3 separate regions of the Homo sapiens genome follow, and regions 2 and 3 are each linked to region 1. The links are contacts of gene promoters, found by promoter capture Hi-C in blood cells and fetal thymus (Javierre and others, 2016). All regions are on one chromosome and are shown on one strand. The core of a region is centred on a gene start or on the middle of the fragment in contact, and the rest is flanking DNA. Distances in the headings are between cores, read along the strand shown.

Region 1 (4,368 bases), core at 926-3,425:
TAAAATGGATAAAGCAGCAATTTCTCAGGTCCCTTCCAATGATCCTGTTCTCTGCTTCTACTTGCTATTTTTTCTCTCTTCTCTCAACTAGCATTAACATCCAAAACTATATATAATCACCAAATTTCATTTACCATGGTTTTTTAATTATTCTTTAAATTTTTCTAGTTCCATGTTAAATCCAGAGAAATGTTACTTTTTCGAAAGTTTCTACTACTGCCTCTCTCTCTGAAGGCCATGGGACTTAACTATTTGTCAAAGCAGAAATTCCCAACATTTCGTAAACACCACTAATTACTTTTTATAACTGTAAAGACAATTATTCCATACTTAAAACCAATTCAAAATAAAATAAATCCTCAATACTTCTTATTCCCTGGGGTAGTAATTTTAATTAGATTTTATTGATTCTTTATTTTCTCCTATGTGCCTTTATTTGGGAAATACTGTTAGTCTACCTTACTATCGAGTCTCTTTCCCTAGCAAGAAAATGTCAGTCTTAAGAGTCAGGAAAGCTTTTACTTTCACTATCACATATGAAGAATGAACTAAACACCTAAATTGGATAGGAAAACTTAAATGAGGGATTCAGGACACTTCCCAAGGGGTCATATGACCAATTTAAAAGTTGGTATGATGTGTCTAAAATAACAAATTAACTCTTTTACTTATAATAAAGGTACAGATGTGCTGATTAGTCATGCTAACATGTACATATGAAATATGCCTAAACCAAATTAAAAGAAAACAAAATACAGTCTATGGCAATCTTGAAAATTCAGGGAGCTCAATAAATATTAAGAGGATGCTCTCACAATGAGAGCATTAAACACTTGGTAATTAACATAATTTAATATGCAAAAATAAGAAAATATACAGGATGAGGGATGAGGAGTACACATAGGAAATTTTTGTGATTTTCTTCATTTTGATTGTATTGCTTTCTTGTCTTCAGGAGGGAAGATTTTGACTTCAAAAGTAACAAAATATTTAAGAAGGGAATTCACATCTTTCTGTTCTAAATGATATTCTTGCGCTATTTTCTCAGCAGTTCATGTTTCTGGATAAAGTTTATGATTATTGAAAAGTGTCAATGCTTCTACAGTGGAAATTTTGCCTTTGGGAATGCTCTTAATATTTATCATATCAAAGTGATGGCCTTTCGGCAATCTGAATTTCTTTGGCTCCTGACGTGTTTCAGCAGCTTTCAGCTGCACGGAAGACACAGGATCTTTGGAATCAACACACACATATTTTAGAAATGACAGCAGCTTGTCATCTTTACGAGCAATCTCTCCCTTAATTTCTGGATAGAGACTAATCTGCTCTGGCAGGAGGCTGCTGGTAGAGGGGTGCCTGGGAGCGAGAGAGGGCTTCATGTTGCGGATTTCCCTTTCCGCTCGGTTCTCTTGAAATTCCTGATCCCGCGAGTCACCGCAGCCCCCATCTCCTTACAACATGATGCCCTCAGGTTCACAGTAATGTATTTTTTAAAAACCAGTCGTTGTTACCTTAATTTGGTCCCAAGGGCTGTAAAGGTCAGTTTACAACTCGTTGAACAACTGAGTAAGATTTAAGGCAACTCAACTGATAGCTGCATACCTAATTTAGGATATCCATAGAATTGTTTTGTCAACTACAAATATAACAAGCATTAAGTGTAAACTGTGTTGCTGAAAAGTACTCCAAGTATCTTAGGAACACCCACCGCAATGTGTGGGCTAAATGCACACGTACAATGATAGCAGAAATAATACCTGTCATATAGGACGGGCATGTCAGCCTTTTCTCCGCGAAAGGCTTCTGGTCCTAAGCTGTCCCTTACTTTCACCGGAATGAGATGCGTCCAGAGTCCCAAGCAAGGGAGGAGACTGCTCCTTTACCCAGGAGGCTGGAAACTGCTCGATGCGAGCGCAGTTTCCGACGCCCTTCGGCTGAGACCTGCAGCACCGGACGATGTCCCAGTTGCCAGCTTTAGTTGCTAAGGCACCAACCACTTCGGAGGAAACGGGGGGTGGTGCAGTCTCTTTTGGAGTCGTAGCGAATCAGCTACAAGTCGAGATAATTAGTTCCGGCAGGAAACAGCTCCTCTAAGAGGGACTGGAAGGCGGAAAGAAGCTGAGAGTGACGCCTCTGAGCCGCGGAGGATTGTGGGAGGAGGTTGTCTCCAATTTCTCCTCCCCCTCCCGGCCAAGATGTCTGACATGGAGGATGATTTCATGTGCGATGATGAGGAGGACTACGACCTGGTGAGGCGCAGGGAATGGAACTCTGAGGGTGGTGATGTGTCTTGTTTTCGGGGTCCGGGCCGGGGCGCCCGCGGCCTCTCCCCGTAGAGCATGTGCCGTTTACAGCCTCTCTCAGTGCGGTGACAGGACTGGTTTACCTCCTCCCCGTTCCCGCACCGGGCCCGGGCCCTGCTTCTCCAGCATGGGGGAAGGGAGGGCAAAGGAGGCAGCGAAGGGGGCCCCGGGCCTTGCCCTCCGAGTCTGAGCGCCTCTTCGGTTTACACGGATGCCCCTGGTCCCAGGCGTTCGGTTCTCTGTCTTCTGCCTCCCCACCGCGCTAGCCGCCTCGGTGACCATGCTGCGGTGTAGGCCCTGGCTTTGCCCTTTCGGGCCCAGCGTTCCGGGCCCCCACTTCTTCACACTGGAACTGAGCGGGTGCGAAATGCTAGGAGAAGTCAGAAAACGGGGGTGTCCTTACTGCTCCCAGGCCTGACTGCGAAACGCAACTTGTGAGTCTCCTGGAGACATAGCTTAAATAGTCTTGCCAGGGCCAGTTTTGGTCCGAGGTAAGTGTGTAGGGGAGAGTTCAGAGCAAAGATAACTGAAAAAAAGGTAGTCGAACCACTTTTTCAGTTCTTTATAAAGAAAAGCTGGGGAGGAGGTTTTGCTTGTGGTGTTTTTGGAGGACGGGTGAAAGATAATTGAACCCATGGCTTTTCCCTTAGAAATTTCCCAGTATACAAAGTTTAAAACAGCAACAGCATAGAAATAAACGAATTTTTCTGACCGAATGGAGATTTTTAAAGATTCAAAGCTTCATTTATTAATGGATTTGCAAGTTTGAATAACGTTTGCTATTCAAAAACATCGTGTGGAAACTCAGAAAATTATCTTGATCCAGAATTAACGTCAATTTTGCTGTGTTTCTTTATTTTGGGGGTGTTTCATATGGTTCTTTTATGGTGATGCTGCATTATCATAAAGTTACGAAATAGATGTTTTGGGACGTCTGACTCATTTTAAGTGCCAGAGATTGTCAAAATATTAATACATTGTTTTGAATTAGTCTATAACTTTTTCGTATATATTTTCAGTTTTTTGCATTTTAAAATAAGGCACACTTTGCAAAAGGGAGAAAGGAAATTCTCGCTATTATTTGAAAGTCATAGTAGAGATTTTTATAATTTTTAAAGTTAAATGTAGTTTCGCTAATAGTTATGGTTTCTACCTTACATTTTAGTTTGTGCAAGCCAGTTGTAGGCAGTGACTTCAGTTCATTAAGAATATGTATCTGTCCATTTTTACTTATTACCTGTTTATTTATATTACAGGTGTTTTGTTATCAAAATGTTTCTTTTATATGTGCTTGTATTTTTTTAATTGATTCATAGTATTTTGTACATATTTATGGGGGGTTTCGTTACATGCACAGGATATGTAGTGATCAAGTCGGTATTTAGGATATCCATCACCTTGTGTTTTTATCATTTCTGTGTCTAGGGAATATTTAAAGTCATCTCTTCTAGATATTTTGAAATATAAAATACGTTTTAACCATAGTCACCCTGCTCCGCTGTCAAACATTAGAACTTACTCCTTCTATCTAACTGTTGGTTTGTACATACCATTAACCAACTTCTCTTACTTCCCCACTCCTCTTCCCCCCACAACACCCTTCCTATCATTCTACTCTCTACCACCGTGAAATCAACTTCTTTTGCTCCCAGATCTGAGTGAGAACATGTGATATTTGTCTTTCTGTGCCTGGCTTATTTCACTTAACCTAATTCTCCAGATCCATGTTGCTGCAAACTGACAGAATTTCATTCTTTTTTATAGTCAAATAATATTCCATTATGTATATATACCACATTTTCTTCATCCGTTTATCCATTGATGGACACTTAGGTTGATTCCCTGTCTTTGCTGTTATGAATAATGCTGCAATGAACATGGAGTGCAGGTATTCCTTTAATAGACCGATTTTCTTTCCTTTGGATAAACCCAGGAGTGGATTGCAAGATCTTATGGTAGTTCTACTTCTAGTTTTTGAGAAATCTCCATAATGGCTATACTAATTTACATCTCCATCAAAAGTGTAGAAGAGTTCTGTTTTCTCCACTTTCTTGCCAGCATTCTA
Region 2 (4,368 bases), core at 638-3,137, 470 kb before region 1:
GACAACTATTTTCAACTCATTTAACAGAGAATCTTCTCTTAAAGCAAAGCTCCAATGTCATTTTCACTTAAGTTATATTAACTCCAATTCTTTGCATTTCACCATGTGTGCCAAGGACATTTTAATAAATCCTATAAACTTTAGGTTTGCCTATTTTATGCCATTTTATTTTATTTTTATTTATTTATCTTGAGATGGACTCTCACTCTGCCACCCAGGCTGCAGTGCAGTGGTGTGATCTCGGCTCACTGCAACCTCCGTCTCCTGGGTTAAGCAATTCTGCCCCAGCCTCCCAAGTAGCTGGCATTACAGGCACCTGCCACCATGCCCAGCTAATTGTTGTATTTTTTTAGTAGAGACAGGTTTTCACCATGTTGGCCAGGTTGGTCTTGAACTCCTGACCTCAAGCGATCTGCCTGCCTCAGCCTCCCAAAGTGCTGAGATTACCAGTGAGCCACCACACCTGGCCTCTTACGCTATTTTAAAAAGAAATGTAAGTTTGGGCAAAAAGCTTCAGATCTAAAATTCAAGTTGAAATTCTGTTCCTTAGACATACTTTCAAGTCAAAACTGTTATCCTTTGCAGGAAACATCATGATTTTCGGCATCACATTTTCAATAGCACAAATTAAATAATTATCAATTAAAAAATAGTAACAATAGACCTAAGAGGTGTAATCTTTATATCACAAAACTGTCTTCAAAATCATCTTGCCTAACTACTCCCCAATCTTTCTGGCACCAAGAAGGACTGGTTTCGTGGAAGACAATTTTTCCACAGACCAGGGTTTGGGGAGAGGGTTTGGGGATGATTCAAGCACATTACACTTATTGTGCACTTTATTTCTATTATTATTACATTATAATATATAATGAAATAATTATACAACTCACCATAATGTAAAATCAGCAGGATCCCTGAGCTGGTTTTCCTGCAACTTGATGGTCCCATCTAGGACATGGGAGACAGTGACAGATCTTCAGGCATTGGATTCTCCTAAGGAGCATGCAATCTAGGTCCCTTGTATGCACAGTTCACAATAGGGTTCATGCTCCTATGAGAATCTAATGCTGCCGCTGATCTGACAGGAGGCAGAGCTCAGGTGGTAATGCGAGTGATGGGGAGCGGCTGTAAATACAGACGGAAGCTTCGCTTGCTCTCCAGCAGCTCACCTCTTGGTGTGCGGCCTGGTTCCTTAGGACCGGTACTGGTCTGTGGTCTGGGGATTGGGGACCCCTGTTGCCTAAGTATTTCCCTTGAAGTTTCATTATTTGTTATAGATGTTGTCTGTAACATGTCTCTATGCAAAAATAATATTCTCTTGGATTTTGTAAATTATATTTTTCTTATTTCACTTTGGCTTTTTTGGTTTAGCTCTCTTTGTAATGCTTATACAAGTACTGCATTCAGCCATGATTATGAAAAAAATGCCAAATCATATCTCCCTTACTATATATAAGAAACCCTCTGGAGATGTGTTCTTGACTTCAGCTTTTAAATGACCTTTTGTTTTATTTGGTAGTTCCCACCATCTCCAAGTTCCCATCCCATGCTAAATAAGTAGGATTCTAGGAATTTACCCTGGGCACACTATTTTACCCTGGAGGACAAAACTATTTTTCTTATGTCTTAAACTGTACATATTTAAAGTGTACAATCTAATAAGTTTTAACATATGTTAAATTCTTGAATCCACTGCTACAGTCAAAATAATGATTTGCCACTATCAAAAGTCTTCTCAAGCCCTTCTTCCTTCTCCTCTCACCATCAACAATTGCCCTCCTCAGGCAATCAGTAATCCACTGCCACTATAGTTTGTACTTTCTAGAATTTTATATAAATGAAATCATACAATATACCCTCTTCATTTGACTTTAGCTAAGAATAATTATTTTGAGGTTCTTCCATGTTGTGTGTGTGTGTGTGTCATTAGTTCCAAAACTATTTTTGAATGGAGCAGCTACTAAATAATTTCAATTTCAAATTTTTTTCTTCCTGGACAATTATGTTGGGGACAGAACAGTATAAATAATACACCCCTGGAGGACCTTGGCCTACAAATGAATTCCTCAAATAGTTTTCAATTAGGGTTTCAAATGCTGTATCTCCTACCCTCCCCGCTTAGGCCTAGCAATCATTTATAAGTTAGGCCCAATGATCATTTATAAGTTAGGCCCAATTGCTTCTAATCATCAAACCAACTTCTAGTTATGGAAAATTTACCATTTAAGTAGGCAGTTCACAAATGATTTTACATCAGTCTACTTCTGGCTGAACACTACATCAGAGTTTCCTCATGACGCTCGGTCTCAGTTGAAACTACCTTCCCTCTCCCTAGGGTCTCTGAGCACCACATCAGTATTATCTTAGCCCAGGGAAGGTAGGAAGTAAGAAAAGAAAAAAAAGCAGATCATGACAAGAAAAGAAAAAGAAAGCAGATCATAAATGTGAACTTCTTATATGGCTGATGAGTAAAGCTGAAAATTCCAAAAGTTATCAATATTTCTGATCAGCTAGCTATCTTGGAGGGTATCATTTATATCAAGAACACAGGAGTGTTATTGACAAATTTTATAAATCATGTGCCTAGCCTATTTTTTTAATTATATGATAAAAGAAAAAGCTTTATGAACTAAAGTCTGCAAGCATAATTATGCAAAACCTGTACACAATCCAAGGTATTGTTAGTTTTCCATGAGCGTGAGATCTCTCACATCATAAAACCAAAGCACAGAAACAGATCAAATCATGGAAATCCATGTTTGTGTTCTAGTTCACACATGTTAAAAGAAGATTATTTCTTAAATAATGACAAGAGTACAGAGTAACAAAATAGTGTTGACCACACAGGAACAGAAAACCAAACAACGCATGTTCTCACTCATAAGTGGGAGTTGAACAAGGAGAACACATGGACACAGGGAGGGGAACATCACACACTGGAGCCCGTCTGGGGGTGGGGAGCTAGGGGAGGGATAGCATTAGGAGCAATACCTAATGTAGATGATGGGTGCAGCAAACTACCAGGGCACATGTGTATCAATGTAACAAACCTGCAAGTTCTGCACATGTATCCAAGAACTTAAAGTATAATTAAAAAAGAAAGAAAAAAAATTTGCTTTTTTACAAGCTACAAAAACATTTGCTCTGAGGCTTCGTATGGACATTAAAGCTTAACTGTGTTTAAAAAAAAAAAATAGTGTTGACCAGAGGGCAGTCTGAGTAGAGACATTCTGTTTTCAAACAAGTAAAGAATATCAATCTGCTCTCGAACACTTATGTTTTATAAAAGAGACTTACCACAAATCCTTCTGCCCAAGTTTATCAAAATGCTACTGACAAGGAGACCTAAGCATTTTCCCATGGGATTATCAACTTTCCCCAAGAGAGCCTTTTAAATTCTAGGCTCTAAATGCCTATGGCCTAGCGAAGTGTAACCATTGTAACATTGCACCACAGTGCAGTACTTATATGCTTGTGATGATGCTGATGTAAACAAACTTACTGCACTGCCAGTCATATAAAAGCATGCTATACAATAATGTTTAATAATGATAATATAAATCTGTTACTGGTTTATATATTTGCTATACTACACTTAATTTTTTTAGTTTTAGAGTACACTCATCCTAATTAGAAAAAAGAAATGTTAACTGTAAAATAGCCTCAGGCAGGTCCTTAAGGAGGTATTCCAGAAGAAGGCATTGCTATCATAGGAGATGACAGCTCCATACATTACCCCTGAAGAGCTTCCAGTGGGACAAGATGTGGAGGTGGAAGAAGACAGTGATACTGATGATCCTGACACTGTGTAAGCCTAGGGTAACGTGTTTGTGTCTTGGTTTTCAACAAAAAAAGTTTAAAAAGTAAAAATAAATAAATAATAAAAATAGGAATAAGGTTACAGAATAAGAGCATAAAGAAATATTTTTGTTCAGCTGTGCAATGTGTTTGTGTTTAAATGTAAGTGTTATCACAAGTTTTTTAAAAAGTTTATAAAGTAAAAAAGTCACAGTAAGCTAATTTATTATTGAAGAAAAATATTTTTCATAAATGTAGTGTACCCTAAGTATACAGTGTTTATAAAAACTACAGTAGTGTACAGTAACATCACAGGCCTTCACATTCACTCACAAGTCACCACTGACTCACCAAGAAAAACTTCCAGTCCTGCAAATTCCATTCATGCTAAGTGCCCATAAAGGATTACTATTTTTATACTGTACTTCTACTGTACTTTTCTATGCTTATATTTGTTTAGATACACTAATACCATTGTGTGTACAACTGTGTACAGTATGCAGTACAATAACATGCTGTACAGATTTTGTAGGCTAGGAGCAATAGGTATTGCCCAGGTGTATAGTA
Region 3 (4,368 bases), core at 729-3,228, 330 kb after region 1:
GGACTCCAACTATGAGGAACCCTAAGACATTCACATCATGATACATTATAATCAAAATGTCAAAAACAGAGAATTTTGAAAGCAGCAAGAGAAGAGACTCATTATGTGCCAGAGAGCCTCCATAAGACTATCAGCACATTTATCATAACCACCGTAAGACTATCAGTGGGTTCAATATATTCAAAATGCTAAAAGAAAAAAGACTGCCAACCAAGACTACTCCATCTGGCAAAACCATCCTTTCTTTTTTTCTTCTTCTTCTTTTGAGACCACGTTTCACTCTTGTCGCCCAGGCTGGAGTACAATGGCACCATCTCGGTTCACTGCAACCTCTGCCTCCTGGGTTCAAGTGATTCTCCTGCCTCAGCCTCCCAAGTAGCTAGGATTACAGGTGCCCGCCACCACACCTGGCTAATTTTTTGTATTTTAAGTAGAGACAGGGTTTTGCCATGTTGGCCAGGCTGGTCTTGAACTCCAGACCTCAGTTTATCCACCTGCCTTGGCCTCCCAAAGTGCTGGGATTATAGGCGTGAGCCACCGTTCCTGGCCAAAACCATCCTTTAAAAATGAAAGAGAAATATAGACTTTCTGAGATAAACAAAAGATGAGGAGTTTGTTAGCACTAGATCTGCCTTTCAAGAAATGCTAAAGTCCTTCAAGTTGAAACAAAAGGATACCAAACAGTAACATGAAAGCATATGAAAGTACAAAGCTTGCTGGTAAAGGTAAATATATAGAAAAACACAGAATACTGTAATATTATAATGGCAGTGTGTAAATAACTTTTAATTCTGGTTATAGAAGTTAAAAGACAAAAATGTGAAAAATAAGTCATATATCACTTAACAATGGGGAAATGTTATGAGAAATACATTGCTAGATGATTTTTTCATTGTGCAAACATTTTTGAATATATGTACACAAACCTAGATAGTATAGCCTACTACACACCTAGGCTATATGGTATAACCTATTGCTTGTAGGTTGCAAACCTATACAGCACGTTAGTGTACTGAATACTGTAGACAATTGTAACACAATGGTAAATATTTGTGTATGTAAACATAGAAAAGGTGCAGTGAAATAGGATATAAAAGATTTGAAATGGTACACCTATGTAGAACATTTACTGTGAATGAAGCTTGCAGGACTGGAAATTGCTCCAGATGAGCCAGCGAGTGAGTGGTGAGCGAATGTAAAGACCTAGGACATTACTGCACACTACTGCACACTTTATAAACACTATGCACTTAGACCACACTAAGTTTATTTTTTTTAATTTTCTTTCTTCAATAATAAATTAACTTGAGTTTACTGTAATTTTTTTACTTTGTAAACATTTAAATTATTTTAATCTTTTGACTTTTTTGTAATAACACTTAGCTTAAAATATAGGTTATAGAGCTGTACAAAAATATCTTCTTTCTTTATATCCTTATTCTATATGGTTTTTCCTATTTTAAAATTTTTTATTTCTATTTTTTACTTTTAAACTTTTTTGTTATTGTTAAAAATAGAGACAGAAACACAGACATTAGGCTAGCACTAGACAGGGGCAGGATCATCAATATCACTGTCTTCTATCTCCACATATTGTTCCACAGTCTTTAAGGAGCAATAACTTGCATGGAGTTGTCATCTCCTATGATAACAATGCCTTATTCTAGAATATCTCCTAAAGGACCTGCTTGAGTCTCTTGAGAAAGTGTCACTATTTTCAGAAATATGACCTTGGCGGTTTGCTTGCTTTGTTTCTTTTTTCATCATAGATTTGCTCGTACGCAGATAATGCAACATGAGCATTCTTTTCTATTAATGAAAACCTTTTGGTGTTGGGGATCCATGTTTTTAGTCTTTTCAAGAAGCTTGTTAAGGTCTGAAAAAGCTTCTGCTAAACTCTTTATTGTTAATTTTTTGGGGGGTTCTTCTTCTTTTTCTTTGCCTGCACTTTCCTTTCCTTTTGCCTCCTCTTCAGCTATGCCTTCCTGTTTCAGTTCCAACAACTCATTAGTCAATTCTTCAGGACAATTGCATTAGGCAATAGGAATTTTTCAGCTTCATTATAAGCTTATGGGATCACCATTGTATATGCAGTCTGTTGTTAACCAAAATGTTATTATGCAACAATAACTATGTAACTATAAAATATGTTAATGAATACACAAAATTTAAAAATGTAATTGGTGACATCAATAACATAAAATTGTGTGTGGAGAAATAACAGTGTAGAGTATTTGTATGTGATTGAAGTTAAGGTGTTATCAGTTTAAAAGAGATTGTTATAGCTATGTTTTATGCGAGCCCCATGGTAATCACAAAGAAAATACTTCTAGAAGATACACAAAACAAAATGATAAAGGAATTAAAGCCTATTCACTATGAAAAATTAATGAAACACAAAGGAAGACAGCAAGAAAGGAGAAACAGGACCAAAAAAAGCTTTAAGACAGAAAACAATAGAATGGTAATAGTTCTTCTCTAGTATTAACTACTTTAAATGTAAATATATTAAATTCTGTAATCAAAAAGCATAGAGTGGCTGAATTGATTAAAAAAAAACAAGCTCCAACTACATGCTATCTATAAGAAACTCACTTTATTTTATTTATTTATTTTTTTGAGACGGAGTCTCGCTCTATTGCCCAGGCTGGAGTGCAGTGGCACAATCTCAGCTCACTACAACCTCCGCCTCCTGGGTTCAAGTGATTCTTCTGCCTCAGCCTCCCAAGTAGCTGGGACCACAGGGGTGCGCCACCATGCCCAGCTAATTTATATATTTTTAGTGGAGACGAGGTTTCACCATGTCCGCCAGTCTGGTCTCAAACTCCTGACCTCAGGTAATCCACCTGCTTGGCCTCCCAAAGTGTTGGGATTATAGGCGTGAGCCACCACGCCTGGCAAGGACTCACTTTAGATTTAAGGACACACGTAGGTTGAAAGTGAAAGTTTAGAAAAAGATATTCCATGAAAATGATAACCAAAAAATGGCAGGAGTGGCCATACTTATATCGGACAAAATAAACTTTAAGTCAAAATATCAAAAGAGACAAAGAAGGACATGATATAATGATAAAAGGATCAATTCTTCAGGAAGATATAATAATTATAAATATATATGCACATCAGGGTACCCAAATATATGAAGCAAACATTGACAGAACTAAAGGGGGAAATAGACAGCAAAACAATAATAGTAGGGGATTTTAATGCTCCACTTTCAATAATGGATAGAACACCAGACAGATCAATGAGGAAAAAAAGAACTTGAACAACACTATGGACCAAGTGGATCTAACATACATATACAGAACATTCCATCCAACAGCAACAGAATACATATTCTTCTCAAGTGCACACAAAACATTCTCCAGAATAGATTATGTTAGATAACAAGACAAGTCTTGACAAATTTAAGAGGCTGACATCATAACAAGTATCAGTGGAATGAAACTAGAGGCAGAAGGAAAACTGGTATTTCCACAGGCAACAAAAGGGACACTAGAGAAGTGGCATTACATTAAACTAAAAAGCTTCTGCACAGCAAAGAAAACAATCAGCTTAGTGAAAAGGCAACCTACAGAATGAGAGAAACTATTTACAAACAATGTATCTGATAAGGAGTTAATATCCAAAATATATAAGGAACGCCTACAACTCTATAGCAAAAAAATAAAAGCAACCAATGAAAACATAGGCAAAGGACTTGAATGAATAGAGATTTCTCCAAAAAGACCAAAAAATGACCAACGGGTATATGAAAACATGCTCAATCAACATCATTAATCATCAGGAAAATGCAAATCAAAACCACAGTGAGATAATACCTCACACTTGTTAAGATGGCCATTATTTTTTTAAAAAGAGGAAGAAAATAACAGGTGTTCGCAAGGATATGAAGAATTGGTGCCCTCGTGCACTATTGGTGGGTGTGTAAAATTGTACAGCCTCTATGGAACACAGTTTGGAGGTTTCTCGAAAAATTAAAAATAAAACTACCATATGATCTAGCAACCTCACTTCTGGGTAATTATCCAAAAGAACTGAAAGCAGGATCTTGAAAAGATGTTTGCACTCCCATGTTTATTGCAGCATTATTCACAATAGTCAAGAGGTGAAAACTAAGATCCACTAAACAATAAATGGATAAAGGAAATATGATAATATCCATATAGTGGAACACCATAGAACAACCATAGAAAAGAGGGAAATCCTGTCCTATGCTACAGTGTTCTCAAGGAAATGGGTAGTTGCTGTTTGATGGGTATAAAGTTTCAGTCATGCAAGATGAAAAAGTTCCAGAGATCTGCTGTATAACGTTGTACTTAACAGTTAACAATACTGTACTGTACACTTAAAAATCTGTTAAGT

The links. Contacts are between HindIII fragments. The CHiCAGO score rates a contact against its expected background, and 5 or more counts as called.
Region 2: a fragment that was not itself captured here is called in contact with the fragment with the promoter of COPS2 in region 1 in 1 of 17 cell types (naive CD4 T cells); the score reaches 5.2 in naive CD4 T cells.
Region 3: a fragment that was not itself captured here is called in contact with the fragment with the promoter of COPS2 in region 1 in 1 of 17 cell types (naive CD4 T cells); the score reaches 6.1 in naive CD4 T cells.

Annotation. Positions count from the first base shown.
Region 1 is chr15:49,153,406-49,157,773 of GRCh38, reverse strand. COPS2 (COP9 signalosome subunit 2) reads left to right here and starts at 2,175. Exons shown (of 13, transcript NM_004236.4): 1 at 2,175-2,249. The coding sequence starts at 2,196. It also overlaps a transcript of GALK2 not described here and the pseudogene NDUFAF4P1. RefSeq lists enhancers at 1,223-2,141, 1,900-2,429. The HindIII fragment of the contact is 2,527 bases long and covers 518-3,044 here.
Region 2 is chr15:49,627,584-49,631,951 of GRCh38, reverse strand. All of the region lies in intron 2 of DTWD1 (DTW motif tRNA-uridine aminocarboxypropyltransferase 1), which reads right to left. Among named protein-coding and RNA genes, the nearest start is that of DTWD1, 8.7 kb to the right of the region's middle. The HindIII fragment of the contact is 1,476 bases long and covers 1,150-2,625 here.
Region 3 is chr15:48,828,170-48,832,537 of GRCh38, reverse strand. All of the region lies in intron 11 of SHC4 (SHC adaptor protein 4), which reads left to right. Among named protein-coding and RNA genes, the nearest start is that of CEP152, 19 kb to the right of the region's middle. The HindIII fragment of the contact is 182 bases long and covers 1,888-2,069 here.